Linked DNA regions of Homo sapiens: all the other regions are linked to region 1. The links are contacts of gene promoters, found by promoter capture Hi-C in blood cells and fetal thymus (Javierre and others, 2016). All regions are on one chromosome and are shown on one strand. Each heading gives the region's core, a stretch centred on a gene start or on the middle of the fragment in contact. The rest is flanking DNA. Distances are from core to core; before and after follow the strand shown.

Evidence for each region. The method cuts DNA at HindIII sites, captures the fragments that hold promoters and counts their contacts. A CHiCAGO score of 5 or more calls a contact.
Region 2: a fragment that was not itself captured here is called in contact with the fragment with the promoter of H1-10-AS1 in region 1 in 1 of 17 cell types (M1 macrophages); the score reaches 7.1 in M1 macrophages.
Region 3: a fragment that was not itself captured here is called in contact with the fragment with the promoter of H1-10-AS1 in region 1 in 1 of 17 cell types (fetal thymus); the score reaches 5.2 in fetal thymus.

Annotation. Positions count from the first base shown.
Region 1 is chr3:129,314,761-129,317,568 of GRCh38, reverse strand. It overlaps H1-10-AS1 (H1-10 antisense RNA 1), which reads right to left and starts at 1,298. Exons shown (of 5, transcript NR_026991.1): 1 at 224-1,298. It overlaps H1-10 (H1.10 linker histone), which reads left to right and starts at 1,283. Exons shown (of 1, transcript NM_006026.4): 1 at 1,283-2,798. The coding sequence starts at 1,667. The coding sequence ends at 2,308. RefSeq lists silencers at 805-1,144, 1,945-2,074, 2,455-2,744. The HindIII fragment of the contact is 12,756 bases long and covers 1-2,808 here.
Region 2 is chr3:129,827,161-129,830,057 of GRCh38, reverse strand. It overlaps TMCC1 (transmembrane and coiled-coil domain family 1), which reads left to right. Exons shown (of 7, transcript NM_001017395.5): 4 at 1,550-2,255. The coding sequence starts at 1,680. Among named protein-coding and RNA genes, the nearest start is that of TMCC1, 65 kb to the left of the region's middle. The HindIII fragment of the contact is 1,257 bases long and covers 784-2,040 here.
Region 3 is chr3:129,889,074-129,891,948 of GRCh38, reverse strand. All of the region lies in intron 1 of TMCC1 (transmembrane and coiled-coil domain family 1), which reads left to right. Among named protein-coding and RNA genes, the nearest start is that of TMCC1, 3.2 kb to the left of the region's middle. The HindIII fragment of the contact is 1,850 bases long and covers 373-2,222 here.

The DNA.
Region 1 (2,808 bases), core at 49-2,548:
AGGGCCTTTTACTCTGTCCACCTGTAAATGTTCCTGTCTCTCACTCTGGGAACCCCAATTCGCCAGCGTCCTGTCCCCCCTCACCCCTCCATCGCTTTTCTATGCTGGGCCTCTGGAGACTGTCTCCTGCCTGCAACCCTGCCACCCCCCAGCCCCAGCCCCACTCCTGTGCCCTACATCACCTACCCCCAAAGGGATCCCCTCTCCTACCCGAGCATCTTACCCTGGCCTCAGCTTCCCCAAGTGGAGGCTGCAACGGCTTCAACAAAAACTGTCCTGTGCCTTCTCTGCACCCCCAATACTGGAATCAGCAGAGATCGGGCCGCCAGCCTTGCACAAGCCCCCCCGGGGAGGGTGGGGCCCGGGACCCTCTCCAGGACATGGTCTCCTTTGCTGTGTTCCCGCCATCATTTCCCTGTGCACGGGAGAGGGGGAGGGGTGCACCCAGGAACTAAGAGCGAATCCCTTCCCCATCCTCTCACAGGAATTCCTCTGGGTGTCACAGCCTCACCCCCGCCCACCCTGTCCCACCCTGGAGCCCCCATTTGGCTTTGGGGGGACCGGCGGCAGCTACTTGTGGATTACAAAATGAGGCCCTGGGAACATCAGCGGCAACAGGGTGGGGGGAGCGGCGAGGCAGTGTCCCTAGAGAGGTCCTGCCGTAGTCCTCCATTCCCCGGGTTGTGCCTAGGCTCCCAGAGGCACAACCAGAACCCGGGGTGCAGCTGGAGAGTGCCTCCCATCCGCCATCCCCTTTGGATGGGGCGGAAAACCCCCGAGGATGTCCTAGCGCAGTTCACGTTGCCCCAGCCGACCACGTGAGGGCGCGCCCTGTGTTAGTTTGGACAAATTAAAGCTCCTCTTGCGGGCAGGCCTGGAGCCCCCCGGGCCGGGACAAGGCTCGGGTGCCCGTGGCGTTCTCTGGGTTGCCGGCCGCCAAGCTCCCGGCCGTGGGGCCTCCTCTGGGGCCCGCGCTATTGGCCTCCAAACGAGGTGCCCCCCTCCTCTCGCGCTCCCGCAGCCTAGGGTGCACCTCTCCGTTCGCCTTTGCTGAGCCCTTCCAGGACGCAAGTCGCCTCTCCACTGCGCCGGGAGCTCAGGCCCTGTCCGGGGCGCCCCGCTGCGGGCGCGGCGGCGCTGGAGAGGCGCGGTCCGAGAAGCCAGCGGCCGGAGAAGGGGCTCCAAGAAGCACAAGTTGGCGCTGGCCCCGGACCAGGCTGTTGTTGTTCTCAACGTGGTCCGCCATGAAGCTATAAAAAGCCGAGAGAAGCGCCCTCCCGCCAGAGCGCAGCGCGCACGCCCAGCGAGTTCCAGAGGCGCCAGTGGAAGCTGCGGCGGCGGTGTCTCGCGTTCGGCGGGATTTCTCTTCGCTCCGGCTCGGCCTAGGTCTACGTCCCCAGCTCCAGCCGCCGGCTCGGACTCGGTCTCTGACCCCCAACTCGGTCCCCTAGTCCGGCCCCGGCTCCGGGCCCCCCAACCCTCGCTCCGGCCCGGCCCGGCCCCCACCCCAGCCCTGCCGCCCGGCCCCAGGCCCGGCCGCGGCCGCTCCCGCCTGGAGCCGCCGCGCGCCCCCAGCCCCCCTGCACCCCCTCGGCCCCTCGCCTTCCTCTTCCCGGCGCGGCCCCCCGGCTTCCGCGCGCCGCCCGCCACCAATCCTCTTGCTACCATGTCCGTGGAGCTCGAGGAGGCCCTGCCAGTGACGACCGCCGAGGGAATGGCCAAGAAGGTGACCAAGGCTGGCGGCTCGGCGGCGTTGTCCCCATCTAAGAAGAGGAAGAATAGCAAGAAGAAGAACCAGCCGGGCAAGTACAGCCAGCTGGTGGTGGAGACCATCCGTAGGCTGGGCGAGCGCAACGGCTCGTCGCTGGCCAAGATCTACACCGAGGCCAAGAAGGTTCCGTGGTTCGACCAGCAGAATGGGCGCACCTACCTCAAGTACTCGATCAAGGCGCTGGTGCAGAACGACACGCTTCTGCAGGTGAAGGGCACCGGCGCCAACGGTTCCTTCAAGCTCAACCGCAAGAAGCTGGAGGGCGGCGGGGAGCGGCGCGGAGCCCCGGCGGCCGCCACCGCCCCGGCCCCCACCGCGCACAAAGCGAAGAAGGCAGCCCCGGGCGCGGCCGGCTCCCGGCGCGCGGACAAGAAGCCCGCCAGGGGCCAGAAGCCGGAGCAGCGCTCGCACAAGAAGGGCGCTGGCGCCAAGAAGGACAAAGGCGGCAAGGCCAAGAAGACGGCGGCCGCCGGGGGCAAGAAGGTGAAGAAGGCGGCCAAGCCCAGCGTCCCCAAAGTGCCCAAGGGCCGCAAGTGAGCGTGTCGGCCGGTCAGAGCGGCCGGCGTGGGCTTTTCGGTGTTTTTGTTTTTCTACCCCAAGTGACGTAGATTTTGTACGGCTCACGCCGGCCGGGGCCGCGAGGCCTGGTCTGAGCCTCAGGGAGGGGCCCCGGGTCCTCTCAGTCTTTCCCCTCCCCCAACGATGTAGCGTTTTTCGTTGTTTGCTTTAGGTTTTTGAAACAGCCCCGGCGACGCCTCTATTGGCTCTCGGCCTTGGCAACGGCCGTCGTCATGGTTACTGGCCCCTAGGCGCCGATGGCCGAGGCCGCGCCTGCCCACCGGGCGGGGTCGCTGGTTGGCCGGGCCCAGGCGCGCGGGGACGCGGAGGCCGCGCATCCTTTCCCAGCTCCCCACCCTCCTTGCCTTTGGGTGCGCGACAAACAATCGCTCCGGGCTCAGGGCTGCGCGGCTCTTCCCTTCATTCCATGGGCCTTTTTTTGGGCACAATAAAGCGTTTAAACCTTTCAGCCTCTCTCG
Region 2 (2,897 bases), core at 163-2,662, 510 kb before region 1:
AACAATTTTGTGGCATTTAGAAAGTAGGAAGGTACTAGAGAGAGACAAATGTCTTTATCCCTGTCTCCCTGTTTATGCTCCTCTGTTATGAAGAGATTAGGTAATGGAATCACAGGCATGAAAGAATATGGACAGTGGAGCCACAATGACAGTGCCCATAAAATATTTGAAAAAAGTCTTCTGAGAGTAGTCATCAGGAACAAAACTTTAGTGAGTTTGCATTCCTGTTCCACTAAACTCTAGTAGCCTTGAGTTCACAGGGAACTCTTTTATTCAGCTAATTTATGGCTTTCTAGATTGCCACTTGGTGGCAGCAAGTCCACATATTCCCAGAACAGGAGCACCATGGTGCTTCATTGGTAGTGGCTTAAATTGTTGAAGTACTTGGTAGTGTAGGGAGTTTTAAAGTCCTTTAAACAAAAATTTAAAGAAAAATATGGAAATAACCTCCTACATCATATTTTGCATTCTGTAGCAGCTTCTGTGCATGTATATAATTTTGTCTTATATATTTGCACAAATACAGTACAAAAATAAACACTTTCTATTAGGAAAAATCTCATCATCTCCCATCCCCCCCTCCCTTTTTTTTTTTTTTTTTTTTTGCATGTGATTTTAGTAACCATGGCAGTTGCGTTGATTTTACATCTCTTAGTTTCAGCTTCCTTTTAATTTCTTGCATTTAATACTGGTATATGTTTGCTGTTTGACCTTTCTTTTTCTCTACTTTTCTATCCTACCCAGTTACTTTGCTTTTGAGTTTGTATGGATATATGGGAAGCTTCTGTCAGGGATGACACTATAGAGAAAGGGATTTCTTTGAATCTCCTTTCTTGATAGCTGGTACTGAGCAAAGCTCTAGTCTCTGATTCTGATTCTGTCTGAACCATTCACTCATATGGTGCCAGAAAGGTCATTTGTGCTTCAGCAGAGAATTCAACTTACAGGATTTTTATTTCCATTCTCTTCTCAAAAGAGCAAACCTGTCATCTCTAGTTACCAGTGAACTTGATGAATATGAATGGTAACACACTTTTCCATTAAAATCCACATATAGTTAGATTGGGATATCCATTTCTCACTGTTGTTCTTTGATTATACTGAGTTTCAGCCTGTGAATAATTAACTGTGGTTATGAATGAGAGGGATTAAATTGCCTCAGCTAGAGTAAACCTATTGGATGGTCTCTTCTCTTGATTTCCCAAGCAATGGCTGTTCTGTCAACTACCATTATAGTGTCCATTCCAAGATGGCTCCTCTAATATCTAATTCTGTATATATTGAATCTTGTAGGGATTTTTGCTTTTGAACATTGCTGTTTTAATTTCCTATGGACTTGTTCTGGGCTTTTTCTCTCATTCTAAAAAATAATCATTACCCACTATCTAGAAAACTGTCTTTTAATCTTCTGATTAAAGATTGCTTAATGATAGTGCCTATTTGTTTGGCCAGTAGCATGTTTTTCTTTGTTTTAACACTGGAGTTTCTGCATGGATTTATAATATAAGGTTTTTTTTTTGTTTTTTTGTTTTTTTGTTTTTAACATTAGATAGGCATGAAGCCTTCGTCTCACAGCTGCATGCGTAGTCACTGTTGAAGCAAATGCCTACCTAATTTGACACTCTTGGTGTGTTTAAAAAATTTTTTTGAGTTTGCAAATAAGCATATTAAGTCTACTGATGGAGCCTTCGGGCAGTGAACAGTTATTTGAGGACCCTGATCCTGGAGGCAAATCCCAAGATGCAGAGGCCAGAAAGCAGACAGAATCAGAACAAAAATTGTCTAAAATGACCCACAATGCTTTGGAGAACATTAACGTGATTGGCCAAGGCTTGAAGCATCTCTTCCAGCACCAGCGCAGGAGGTCATCAGTGTCTCCACATGATGTGCAGCAAATTCAGGCAGATCCAGAACCTGAAATGGATCTGGAAAGCCAGAACGCATGTGCTGAGATTGATGGTGTCCCCACCCACCCCACAGCTCTGAATCGTGTCCTGCAGCAGATTCGAGTGCCACCCAAGATGAAGAGAGGGACAAGCTTGCATAGTAGGCGGGGCAAGCCAGAGGCCCCAAAGGGAAGTCCCCAAATCAACAGGAAGTCTGGTCAGGAGATGACAGCTGTTATGCAGTCAGGCCGACCCAGGTCTTCATCCACAACTGATGCACCTACCAGCTCTGCTATGATGGAAATAGCTTGTGCTGCTGCTGCTGCTGCTGCTGCATGTCTACCAGGAGAGGAGGGAACTGCGGAGCGGGTAAGTTTGTAAGATTTTGTTTTTCTGTTAACTTACTGTTTTTCATACCTAGGACTCTCCAGACTTTCCTTTGGTAACTAAAAAGATATCTCAGCAAATACCTTAAAGTTGTGGTAAAAGAATTTTTCCCCTTTTCAAATGGGTAAATAATAATTATAGCTAATGAATGAATGCTTAGAATTATATTCCTATTTCCTTCCTAACATAGTGCTATATTTTATTTTATCCTTTCGTTAAAACCTTAAGTATATTTCATGTATTCTTTCTGTATATTTGAGGGTCAGTTTTATGGTAGAGCAATAAAGATGCTTTGTTTCTTATTGTTTTGATTTTGCACATGGAGATGGCTTTCTTACATTAATGAATGTAGTGAATAAAGTTCTAGAATCTGAGTTTGTGCTTACCATGGAAGTACACTAAGTTGGTTATAATTTTCATATACTTTGTAGTACATCAGCAGCATTCATTTTACATTTTGCATGCCACAGTAGAGCATATACATTATTATAGTGTACTATTAATAAACAGATTGTTTTGGGTTTACCCAAAACCAGGCATATTAAATCTAGGAGAAACTTTTTCCATATAACTCTCAGTTATGGTTAGTTGAGGCACATAGAAGAAATAGTCCTGCTAGGGTTT
Region 3 (2,875 bases), core at 48-2,547, 570 kb before region 1:
CAGTGCCCTAGACTAGTTGGTGACCAACCACCATTACTTTAAACTGGGCCTTCTTGATAGTAGAATATTTCCCCTTTTCTGCAAGACTGCTTATGCCTCTCATAAATGTGCAGAACATATAATGGCTCAGGGCTTAGGTTTAAGCTCCTCAGAGTGGCATTTATGGATCATTCATTAATTCATCAAATGTTTATTGAGCCCTTACTTTGTTCCAGGATGTTTTCTAAGTACTGGGCTACATTGTTGGGACAAAACAGACAAGGCCTCTTCCCTAATTAAGCTTTATTCTGTATGTATGGGAATGAGGAATATACAACAAACAAGCAAATAGGATCATTTCAGATAATGATATAAATCAGTGGTTAGTAAGCTTTTTTTGGTAAAGGACCAGGAAGTACAGTACATACCAGGGTTTTTGGGCCATATGATCTCTTTTGCAACTACTCAATTCTGTTTTAGTACAAAAGCAGCCACAGACAGTACGTGAACAAATATGTTTATATTCCAGTTAAACTTGGGACACTGAAATTTGAATTTCATAAAATTTTCACATGTCACAGAATATTAATGAGTTTTTAAAAATATTTTCCCCTAGCCATTTAAAAATGTAAAACCATTCTTAGCCATATAAAACGGGGCAAGGTGGATTTGGCCTATAGATTATAGTCTGGCCTTTTATAGAAAATGTTTGCTGACCCCTAATATGAATTATGAAGAAAATAAAACAAGCTGATGTGACAAGTGAATGACTGAAAGGTGGGTGGAGGGTTACTTAGTGAGAGGAGGCCTCATTAAGGAGAAGGTATTTGAGTTGTGACCTGAAAAATGGTAGCGCTTTCCTGGTAAATGAAACAGTGAGTGCAAAGGTCTGCAGGTGCAGATGAGCTGCTCTTGTTTTCCAGTGTTGAACTTCCCCACATAACATGTCATTCTTACATTTTATGTAAATACATTTTATGTCTTTGTTAGAATGTTGTTCTTCATGTAATAGGATGGTACCTTTCCGTTTCCTCTTCCTGATCCTGCCTTACAGTACCCATGGAGTAAGACTGCAGTGGAGTTGCACCTCATCCCAGGGTTAGGTCCTCAAGTTAGTGCATGAGGCAAAAATCATGTAAGATGAAAACTCTTCTGGAAAATTCCATAAATTGCTCAAAAAGTATGGTCTGCATGTTTTTGTATGTATAGTTGTATAAAATTCTTACGAATATGAAAGGCTGAGAGCCACAGAGCTTGACTGAGGGAAAGAGCAAGAGGAAATAAATTGTTATATAGGTATCTGGGCCTTCAGACTGTTTGGCTTTTTAAAACTGCTCTGGAGTCCCTATCAGAGAGTGGGGGATGGTATAGAATTTTGACATGTTCCTGTTTCCATGCAGGGTTTAATTCTATTTTTATGTTAAGCCTCTATTACATTAATACATGCTCATAGATGTGTTGCGAATATTAAACAAGATAATGTATTTGAAAGAGCCCGGCACTTAAGATAGTCAGTAAACATTTGCAGAATTAGAATCTGATTTTTACTTCTTTGGGCTCACATACATACTGTCCTTTGAAAAGTTGTAGAGAACTTAGCCACCTGCTTCCTGTCTATCCATATTGGCATTTCCTGTTGTGGCTCCACTGAACAGCTGTCACTCTCTTTGTCCTTGAGCATTGGTCACATTTTGCCAGAGGTTGGCTTGTAAGTTAAATGGGTATAGGTGTAACTCTGTTAGTTCTGCCACATGACCCTTAAAGTGTTTGAGCACTGCTATTATGTCTCCTATTTAAGTCTTCACTTTTCAGAGCTGAATGTTTTTATTTTTCTTTTTTTTAAAGATATTATGGAGAGAGATGGGGTCTCATATGTTGCCTAGGCAAACTCCTGGCCTCAAGTGATCCCCCTTGCCTTGGCCTCCAAAAGTGCTGGGTTTATAAGCATGAGCCACCATGCCCCAGCCATTTTAATTTCTGTTAGCTTTTTCTTATTTCTTCACCCTTCTGGTTGTTGTGAGCTTAGTTTATTCTTTTTTTTTTTTTTTAACTTTGCTACTCTGAAGTATATTTTAAGGTACAAATTCAAGTTTTATCTCCTTGACCAAATCTTTCCTGATAATTCTAGACCTTCTTTATATTCTTAATATAGTTTTATCTTTACTCTTCAATTTAATTTTTTCTTATTTTTGTATTTTATACTAGTTTCATGAGCATTTGTCTTCACTCTGCGACAACAAGCTTCTTGAAGGCAAAGACCATATTTTAAGTATCTTTTGTGTCCTAGATGCACTGAGTAAAATTCCAGGGATGCCGTTGATCATAAATTTGTTATAATTTTTAAAAATAGACTTTAAAATTTAGATTTACAGAAACATTGCAAAGATACTGCAGAGTTCCTGCCTATCCTACACTGTTTCCCATATTATTAACGTCTTACATCCCTGTGATCATTTGTCTGTATTAATAAACCAGTATTGATACATTATCACAGAGACCATACTTTATCAGGTTTCCACAGGTTTTTTCCTTAATGTTCTTTCACTATCCCAGGATCCCATCCACAATACCACATTACATTTAGTAATTATGTCTCCTTAGCTCCTCTTGGTTGTGACAATTTCTCAGACTTTCCCTGTATTTAGTGACCTTGGCAGTTTTGAACATTACTGGTCAGGTTTTGTTTGTTTGTTTTTTTGAGACAGGATCTCCCTCTGTCACCAAGACTGGAGTGCAGTGGAACGATCTCATCTCACTGCAGCCTCAACACTCTGGGGTCAAGTGATCCTCTGACCTCAATGTCCGGAGTAGCTGGGCCCAGAGATGTGTGCCATCATGCTCTGCTAATTTTTGTACTTTTTGTAGAGATGGGGTTTCACCATGGTGCCCAGGCTGG